2 separate regions of the Homo sapiens genome follow, and region 2 is linked to region 1. Evidence: promoter capture Hi-C in 16 types of primary human blood cells and fetal thymus (Javierre and others, 2016). All regions are on one chromosome and are shown on one strand. The core of a region is centred on a gene start or on the middle of the fragment in contact, and the rest is flanking DNA. Distances in the headings are between cores, read along the strand shown.

What was found. The method cuts DNA at HindIII sites, captures the fragments that hold promoters and counts their contacts. A CHiCAGO score of 5 or more calls a contact.
Region 2: a contact is called between a fragment that was not itself captured here and the fragment with the promoter of PLCD4 in region 1, in 1 of 17 cell types (M1 macrophages). The highest score is 5.9, in M1 macrophages.

Annotation. Positions count from the first base shown.
Region 1 is chr2:218,605,803-218,610,599 of GRCh38, reverse strand. It overlaps PLCD4 (phospholipase C delta 4), which reads right to left and starts at 2,701. Exons shown (of 16, transcript NM_032726.4): 1 at 2,530-2,701. The HindIII fragment of the contact is 12,670 bases long and covers 2,211-4,797 here.
Region 2 is chr2:218,478,491-218,482,623 of GRCh38, reverse strand. It overlaps USP37 (ubiquitin specific peptidase 37), which reads left to right. Exons shown (of 26, transcript NM_020935.3): 17 at 390-554; 18 at 2,909-2,974. Among named protein-coding and RNA genes, the nearest start is that of VIL1, 61 kb to the right of the region's middle. The HindIII fragment of the contact is 4,909 bases long and covers 1-4,133 here.

The sequences.
Region 1 (4,797 bases), core at 1,452-3,951:
CCTCTCCATCACTTTCTGTTCCCTCTGTACTCTGAATAGTCTTGCTTTTCTTTGGTCTCATTTTCTTTATTTCTATTTATTTATTTTTTTTTGAGACGGAGTGTCACTCTGTCGCCCAGGCTGGAGTGCAGTGGCATGATGTTGGCTCACTGCAACCTCCGCCTCCTGGGTTCAAGTGATTCTCCTGCCTCAGCCTCCCAAGTAGCTGGGATTACAGGTGTGTGCCACCACGCCTGGCTAATTTTTTTTATTTTTAGTAGAGACGGGGTTTCACTATGTTGGCCAGGCTGGTCTCAAACTCCTGACCTCAGATGATCCACCCGCCTCAGCCTCCCTAAGTGCTGGGGTTACAGGGGTGAGCCACCATGCCCAGCCTCTTTCATCTCATTTTCTTTCCTTTCCCTATCCCATGCCTGACCTGGTCCTTTTCCTTTCTTCCCAGTTCACTATAAAAAAAATTTTTTTTAAATTATTATTTGTTTTGTATGGAGATGGGGTCTCCCTGTGTAGCCCTAGTTTTAAACTCCTGGCCTCAAGCAATCCTCCTGCCTGGGCTTCCCAAAGTGCTGGGATTACAGGCGTGAGCCATCATGCCCAGCCCCATCCCCACCTCTCTCTCTCTCTTAATCCTCTGTCTTCCTGTTTGCTCACCTAGGTCAGTCTCTCCTCTTCTCTTCCTTCTCCTCATCCCTTCTCCCCATCACCTCTTCCAGTTGGTTCCCTCTTTTGACTCCACTAATTCGCAATGGCTCTGAGTCTCATCTCCTTTGAGAATTTTGAGACTGTGGTCCAGAAGGGAGGACACTTGGGTTCAGAACTCAGTAGCATGCGTGTCCCTCTGCTCAGCCTCACTTTTCTCTGTATCCTAGGAGATTGACCAAACAAACTGCCCAGACAATGTGAGTTAGAACCTAGGTATTCTAGGTCTTGCTGTTTCCTCTGGTGTCTAATGGTAGAATGGGAAGGATGCCCACAGCTGATGCAGGTGCAATGAGAAGAGAAGGAACAAAGGGTTTGGGAGTGAGGGCACTGGGAAAAACACAGAGGATGACATCTGATAATAAGAAAGGTTGGTCTTAAATATTAACTCATAGACACATATATGGAGATCTTCAATGATATGGTAATTACCTCTCTAATACAGATACGAAAATAGGGACACAAAATGAGATGGGAAGTAGCCCAGAGCTGCAGAGCGCAATTTGGTCCTCAATTTCTAAGAGACTTCATGTCACCTAGAGATGGACTTTGGCAGAGTTACCAATGGCACCAAGGAGATTACAGTGGGATTCAGGGTGTCTCAGGTCTCTCTGAGGGGCAAGAAAGAAGAGAATCATTTTGTCTACTCCCTTGCTTCTGAGAAGGATTATGCCTAACCTGGTTCATATAGAGGACAAATTGGCTCTGGTCACAGGTCACAGAATGTTGGAGCTTGAAGGTTCTTTTTTTTTTTTTTTTTGAGACAGAGTCTCGCTGTCGCCCAGGCTGGAGTGCAGTGGTGCGATCTTGGCTCACTGCAGGCTCCGCCCCCCGGGGTTCACGCTATTCTCCTGCCTCAGCCTCCCGAGTAGCTGGGACTACAGGCACCCGCCACCCACCTCGCCCGGCTAATTTTTTGTATTTTCAGTAGAGACGGGGTTTCACCATGTTAGCCAGGATGGTCTCAATCTCCTGACCTCGTGATCCACCCGCCTCGGCCTCCCAAAGTGCTGGGATTACAGGTGTGAGCCACCGCGCCCGGCCAGTTCTTTTATAACACATCTAATCCAGACATTCCCAGCTACATCAATAGCCTCTGGAATGTCTTGAAATTGAGATCCTTAGCCCTACCCAAAAATCTACCAGATCAGAGTTACCCAGGGTGGGGCTCAATAATATATTTATTTTTAACAAGTACACTTGGTACACAGGCAAGTCTGGGAAACCCTAAACTCTCTCGTATCACAGATCTGGAAGTTGTGGCTCCAGGTCCCGTAGCTAGTTAATGGCACAGGCAGAACTAGAAGTAGGTTTTCTTACCAACGTAGCACTCTGGTGCACTAAGAAACTGCTCTGGCCCATGGAATAGGCAAAGAACAAGTTCTTTAGAGAACTTTCTAAGGGACTTTCATAACTCTCTCTATTACCAGGGATCTCTGATTCCCCATGGTTCTTGGCCAACCCCTATTTTGCAACCCTCAACAAACTGTTAATGAATCTATGCTAAAGCTTAGCTACTCCAATTTTTTCTTCCCTTATTGGGGGTGGAGTTCACCTCAGGAGTGGCTAGGGTTGGCACTTCTGGCCCTGCATAAGCTAAGAGGTACCTCATATAAAGGGCGACTGACACAGCCAGGAGGAAAGCTGTAAGGATAAAGGAGGATAAGCTAGAGAGAACCAGGAGGTGGGAGCCCTGTAGAGCTGTTGGGATGAGGAAAGGAGTCTAGGGTACAATTTAATCAGGGTGGATAAGCATCTAGAGGGCAGAGGTAGGGACTCAGGGAAGACAGAGCTTAGAGCAGAGGGTAGTCAGAGCTTCCAGATCCTTACCGTGGGCAGGAGAGCAGAATAGCAGTCCTGTGTTTCCTGTGTCTGTGAGCTGTGCCTCCCGAGCTCTGCGATGCTGTGGGATCAGGAAGCCCAGCCTGGCTCCTTTTCTCTTTTGCTCCCCTTGCACTGGCTTGTTTCCTCCCCTCTTCTACAGCAGCTGGCTGCTGTGACTGGCAAGTTATAGCCGGAGGGAAGCAGTAAGAAGGGGAGAGGTGTGAGCTCTCTCCAGTCCAGCCCATCCAACTCTTAAAGGCCCAGGACACTGGTCAATGTGAGGGAGTAGTGGGGGTGGGGTGGGGAGAGAAGGATTAAGGGCAGCACATCTCCAGGGAGGAGCCTGGCTGCCCTTCATCTTGATGCCAGCCCTCATTGACCCCAATCCCGCAGTAGCTCTCAAAGTGAAGGGAGTGTCCTCAGTTGCAGTGCTCTGTGAATCACTGCTTTTCATTCTGGTTCCTGCATGTAATACGGCTGTTTTTGCCCTTATTTAATCTGGCTCCTTTCCATAGTGTCTGTTTCCACTGGCCTGCTCCTGTATCTCTGAATCCTGCCTGCAGGGCACTCACTGTAGCTCCGTCCCACAGGAAAAGAAAGAAATAAGATGGGAAAAGAGGAAGACGAGGAGAAGGGGAGGACAGGAATGATGATAGAATGTAGAGGGACAGATAGGTTAGAATCTATGTATATTTTAGGCACTCATTAAATATTGAAAGAATGCATAGATGAACGTGTGAAACAGCTCATTTTTTTTTAAACATCCATTCGTTCCTCCTACAAGCATCTGTTCAGCACCTCTGGGTTATAAGTCATAGCCCTCAGAATGGAGGTAGCACCTTCAGGACATACATGCATGTTTATAAAGATGTGTGCAGAGATGAAGCATAGGCTCAGAGGGGAACTGTGTGAAATGGTGTAATTTTAAGTGTGCTGACGTCTGGCTGCCTATCATGGTTTCCACAAGCATCCCTCAACTGCCTAATATTTTACCATTAGTGATTATAGCTACATTTTTTAGTCCCATTAAAATAAAATCCTCCTAAGTGATTACTATAAAAGTCAGGATAGTGGTTACTGTTGGGAGGGGGAGGAATTGTGGTGAGATGGGACACAGAGGGGGCTTCTGGCATAGCTAGCTAAACTCTATTTCTAGTTCTAAGTGCTAACAAGGGTCTTCACTTAATAATTTATTAAGCTATACATTCTCTTGATATATTTTCTATATGTGTTTTTAAATTTATTTTTTTAGGTCTCATTTAAAATATCATATATCTGTGTTAACTTTTGAAGGCTTAATGATTTTAAATATACATATATGTATATGTATATGTGTGTGTGTGTATATATATATATATATATATTTTTTTTTTTTTTTTTTTTTTTTTTTGAGATAAGAGTCTCGCTGTTGCCCAGGCTGGAGTGCAATGGCGTGATCTTGGCTTACTGCAACCTCTACCTCCCGGGTTCAAGCAATTCTCCTGTCTCAGCCTCCTGAGTAGCTGGGATTACAGGTGCATGCCACCACCCCCAGCTACTTTTTTTTGTATTTTAGTAGAGACGGGGTTTCACCGTGTTGCCCAGGCTGGTCTTGAGCTCCTGAGCTCAGGCAATCCACCTGCCTTGGCCTCCCAAAGTGCTAGGATTACAGGCGTAAGCCACTGCACCCAGCCGATTATAAATAATTTTTTAAAAATTCAATCCTAAGGTCAAAGTAGATTTTAAATAATTTATACCTAGGTTGGGTTGTCTATATTCTTTACTGAGAGCAGGTTTTGATAGAAGAGTAGTAGTATGAAGGAAGGGGACACATTAGGAGGGAGGCCATTCATGGGGAACAGGAAGATTGGGGGGCATCGTAGTTTAAACTGTGCTGATTTCAGATTTGACTTAATAGAGGCCCTGTTTTACATGCTTGTCTTGCTCTCCCATTTCTACTTCCCCAACATGGCCAGCTTATTTTTCCAAGCCTCACCTTCACAGTCCACACTCCTCTTCTATACCCCCAGATTATATACCATCTTTCTGAGTCACTATTTGCATCAATTTAATGCTGCCCAACCTCCTTCCCTCTTGGGTAATCTGTGAGGGGTGTTATCACTCATAGTGGATTTTCTGGGAGAGTCTAGATCTCAAATATTCTGTTTCAATGTTCCCATGAATACAACAGTATTCTTCAGCCCATATGTTCTGATTTTTGGGGCAGGGACTTGGAGACTTTCACAAGGTTAGTATGGTTCCAGAGTGCCAAGGCATGCCCACTGCAGGACTCTC
Region 2 (4,133 bases), core at 1,061-3,560, 130 kb after region 1:
AATAGACATTATTTTACTAGTAGTGGTTATATAAAACCTATTGCTTTTTAAACTATGTAACAGTGAAGTAAATAATTTAAGGATTTAACCCAATATCAGTGCCAAATTTAACATTCTTGTCTGCTATATTTTATTTATTTGTGTTTTTTCTAGGAACATTATAAGTATTTTACCCAAACCACACTAATCCACCATTATTTGTATGCTTTTTACCTAGCCCAATGCCTGGCACTAACAGGTATTCAGTAAATATTCTTTGACGTGTCTTTGGTTTGGCCAAATGGATTTTTTAAATCAAAAGTCGTCTAACATAGAGTGATCTCTTTTACTGTAAGAAAGATACATGTATTATGTATGAATTAGTAAGGTTGTCATCTCCTGTTTTTCAGGGTCCTCATTCTCCATTTGAAACGATATAGCTTCAATGTGGCTCTCTCGCTTAACAATAAGATTGGGCAGCAAGTCATCATTCCAAGATACCTGACCCTGTCATCTCATTGCACTGAAAATACAAAACCACCTTTTACCCTTGGTTGGAGTGCACATATGGCAATGTAAGTCCTTGAGAGACTATGTCTTTATATTCCCTTTTGAAATAGAAAGGCTTTAGTATCTAATCAAAAGAATGACTGAATTACATAATATGACTCCAAGGTAAAATCAGATCAATGGCCAGATGCAGTGGCTCATGCCTGTAATCCCAGCACTTTGGGAGGCTGAGGCAGGAGAATCGCTTGAGCCTAGGAGTTTGAAACCACCTATGGCAACAGAGCATGACCTCATCTCTACAAAAAATAAAATAATAAAGCCAGCATGGTGGCACACACCTGTAGTGCCAGCTACTCGAGGCTGAGGTGGGAGGATTGCTGGAGCCTGGGAGATGAAGGCTGCAGTGAATGGTGATCAGAGCAAGACCCTATCTCAAAAAAAAAAAAAAAAAGAAAAGAAAAGAAAAGAAATCAGACCAAGAAGGAGATTTTAATTTTGCTTTACTTTGTTTTAGTGTTAAATCACTGCCTGAAGTAATTGAAGAAAATGCTTAAAATTTTTCCAAAGTTATTAGTTGCTTTTCATAGTGAGGTGCTTTTTTAGGAAGTGCTCTTGGTTAGAGTGCTAGAAGACAGTTTGATATACTTCTTGAATATGAGTCAAACTTAGGTGATAATAAGAGTCACCTAGACACTAAAAATACTGATTTTTGTGTTTTTTCCCTGGAAGTTCTGTTTCAGTAGGTCTGAGATAGGCGCTTAGGAATCAATATTTTTAGCAAATGCTTCAGTTGACTCTTCAGGACATGCAGATGTGAGAAACCCTATACTCAATGTTATGCCTTCATGCATATATTATCAGCAGTGTAAAGAACTTAAATGGCTCCTGAAATTTCTCAAGAAAAAAAGAAGTAATCTTTACTTTAGGTTTTTGCTTCATCATGTATGCTGGGAAAACCTTCGGACTTCTTTGAGTGTTCCCCTTTTTTCTACATACTTGCATTACTTTGAAGCCATATGTTATGTCATTCTTTTCTATACTTGAACACTAGTTTGGTAGAATAATAAAATTGTAGAACTTTGAAGATGGAAGAGATTTTAGAGGTTTTTGTCCAAACCCTTAAGAGGACCAAGGAAATTAAATGATTTTCCTAAAGTCATACAGTTAGTGTCTGAAAGAGCCACGTCTCATAGAAGTTTACACTAGTGTCTCAAGGGTCTACTAATAAAGGCATGTGCCCAGAGAGTCTAAGTGTTTCTGGTTTTTTCCTCTCACAGCTTTTCACGTTTTTGCTTGGTGCATACTACCTTCTGCTGGTAGAGCTATTACTCTTGCTGGCAGTAGTACTATGTCACACTAATAGTGTATGATCACAGGCCTGAAGCCAAGCTATCTGACTGTACAATTTGATAGCTTTTAGACCTTGCACAGATTCCTTGACTTGTCTATAAGAAAAACAATAGGATGGTTGTGAACATTAAATGAGGTAATAATATGTAGAGTTCTTAGCACAGTGTCTGACATCCAGTAAATCCTCCATAAATGAGAGCTATTACTTTAAAAGAACTGAGACAAGGTAATTTTCTCCAAGTTATTTTTTTCATATGTATTACACTTGACTTCATTTCCAGTGCTGTCTATGTAGATTATTGGATCAAGGAGAGCCTAGAGATGGTATTTTATTTTCTCTTTTGGCCTCTATTGCTAGTATTTTTTTTTTTTTTTTTTTTTTTTTTGAGACGGAGTCTCGCTCTGTCGCCCAGGCTGGAGTGCAGTGGCGCATCTCCGCTTACTGCAAGCTGCGCCTCCCGGCTTCACGCCATTCTCCTGCGTCAGCCTCCCGCGTAGCTGGGACTACAGGCGCCTGCCACCATGCCCGGCTGATTTTTTGTATTTTTTTAGTAGAAACGGGTTTTCACTATGTTAGCCAGGATGGTCTCGATCTCCTGACCTCATGAGCCACCATGCCCGGCCATTTTTTTTTTTTTTGAGATGGAGTCTCACTCCGTTGCCCAAGCTGGAGTGCAGTGGTGCGATCACCACTTACTACAACCTCCGCCTCCCAGGTTCAAGCAATTCTCATGCCTCAGCCTCCCGAGTAGCTGGGATTACAAGCACCCGCCGCCAAACCCAGCTAATTTTTGTATTTTTAGTAGAGACAGGGTTTCACCATGTTGGCCAGGCTGGACTTGAACTCCTGACCTCAGGTGATTCGCCCACTTAGCTTCCCAAAGTGCTGGGATTACAGGCGTGAACCACTGCACCTGGCCTATTGCTAGTAATTTAAAAAGTATTATAATTGTTCAATTTTCAAGAGGACATAAAAGGAATTATAGTAAGAATAATTCATTTTATAATTTAAATATATATCTTTAATAATTCATTTGTATACATTATATATTTTCTAATTTTCTGATAGTTCTAGACCATTGAAAGCCTCTCAAATGGTGAATTCCTGCATCACCAGCCCTTCTACACCTTCAAAGTGAGTTATATTTCTTATGTACCCAAAATCTGTGTTTAAGGTTTTGGCTTACCCTAATCTCCAAGATTGCCTCCCTGCCTTTTCATTATTGTTTTTCTTTTTGCATGATAATGCTCTTTATTACCTATACTTTTGAAACTTTCCTGAATTTGGTTTAGAATATATTGAAGGATATAACAAATTTTAATCAGTGACACAAGGTTAGCTCATCCTCTCAATATTCTGTCTTAAAACTTTTAAAAACTTATTATTGTTAATATGTAATACTTTCATCCTAAAACTCTAAAAATTAACTGAGGACAAGGGAGTCTAGGGATTTAAGGGATAAAATAACCCCTATTAGTCTAAAGCACTCTTCCTTAAAGATAGGCATGGAATCCCAAAACATTTTTTACCTGTTGTTAGCCAGTCTGGAACTTCTTGTCTTTGACACCGAATAGGAGTTGTTTTGAAAGGGGACAGGAAAACAAGCAAGCATTCTACAAATGCCCTATTTTTTTGTTTAAGACCAAACTTTATCCAAGGAGGGAAGCACATGCCTTTTTTGTTTGCTTTTTAAATATATTTCCTCTAAGATTTTACTAGAGGAGTTCCTGATTAGATCATTTCAATTGATTTAGTTGTCGTTTGACTTTTTAATTAATTTTTCTAAAAATTTGATGGCCCAAAGTACTTTTAGAGAAGAGACATTTTTGTTGTTTAAGGGCTTTTGGGGGGCTTATATAACCATAAAATGACATTTGGGAACTGCTATTTTCTTTTCCTCCTGTTAATTATTTTTCAGTGCAATTAAAACCAGATGACTAACATGACTAGAAATCTGAAATGGTACCGATATGAATACTCTTGCCCGTTCTCAAGATACAAATGAGCAATACCACTTGGCTGCTTAGAAAGTGAGCAAGTGATGCATTTACAGGATGAATATTTTTCATTGCTACAGGCAAGCTGCCTTCTGTAAATATAGTAATCATTAATGGAATGCACTCTATGTACCAAGTCACTGTAGTTTCAAGAAAGAAATGATTTCATTGGGCATCATTGTACCTTGGCATGGTCATCTGTTCTCCAGGGTCTGCTGGTATGAAAATTTGGGAGTTGATCAATAAAGAATGATTAGGCCCTAGAAGACCTGTCATGCCGATCAAACTTAAAAGAG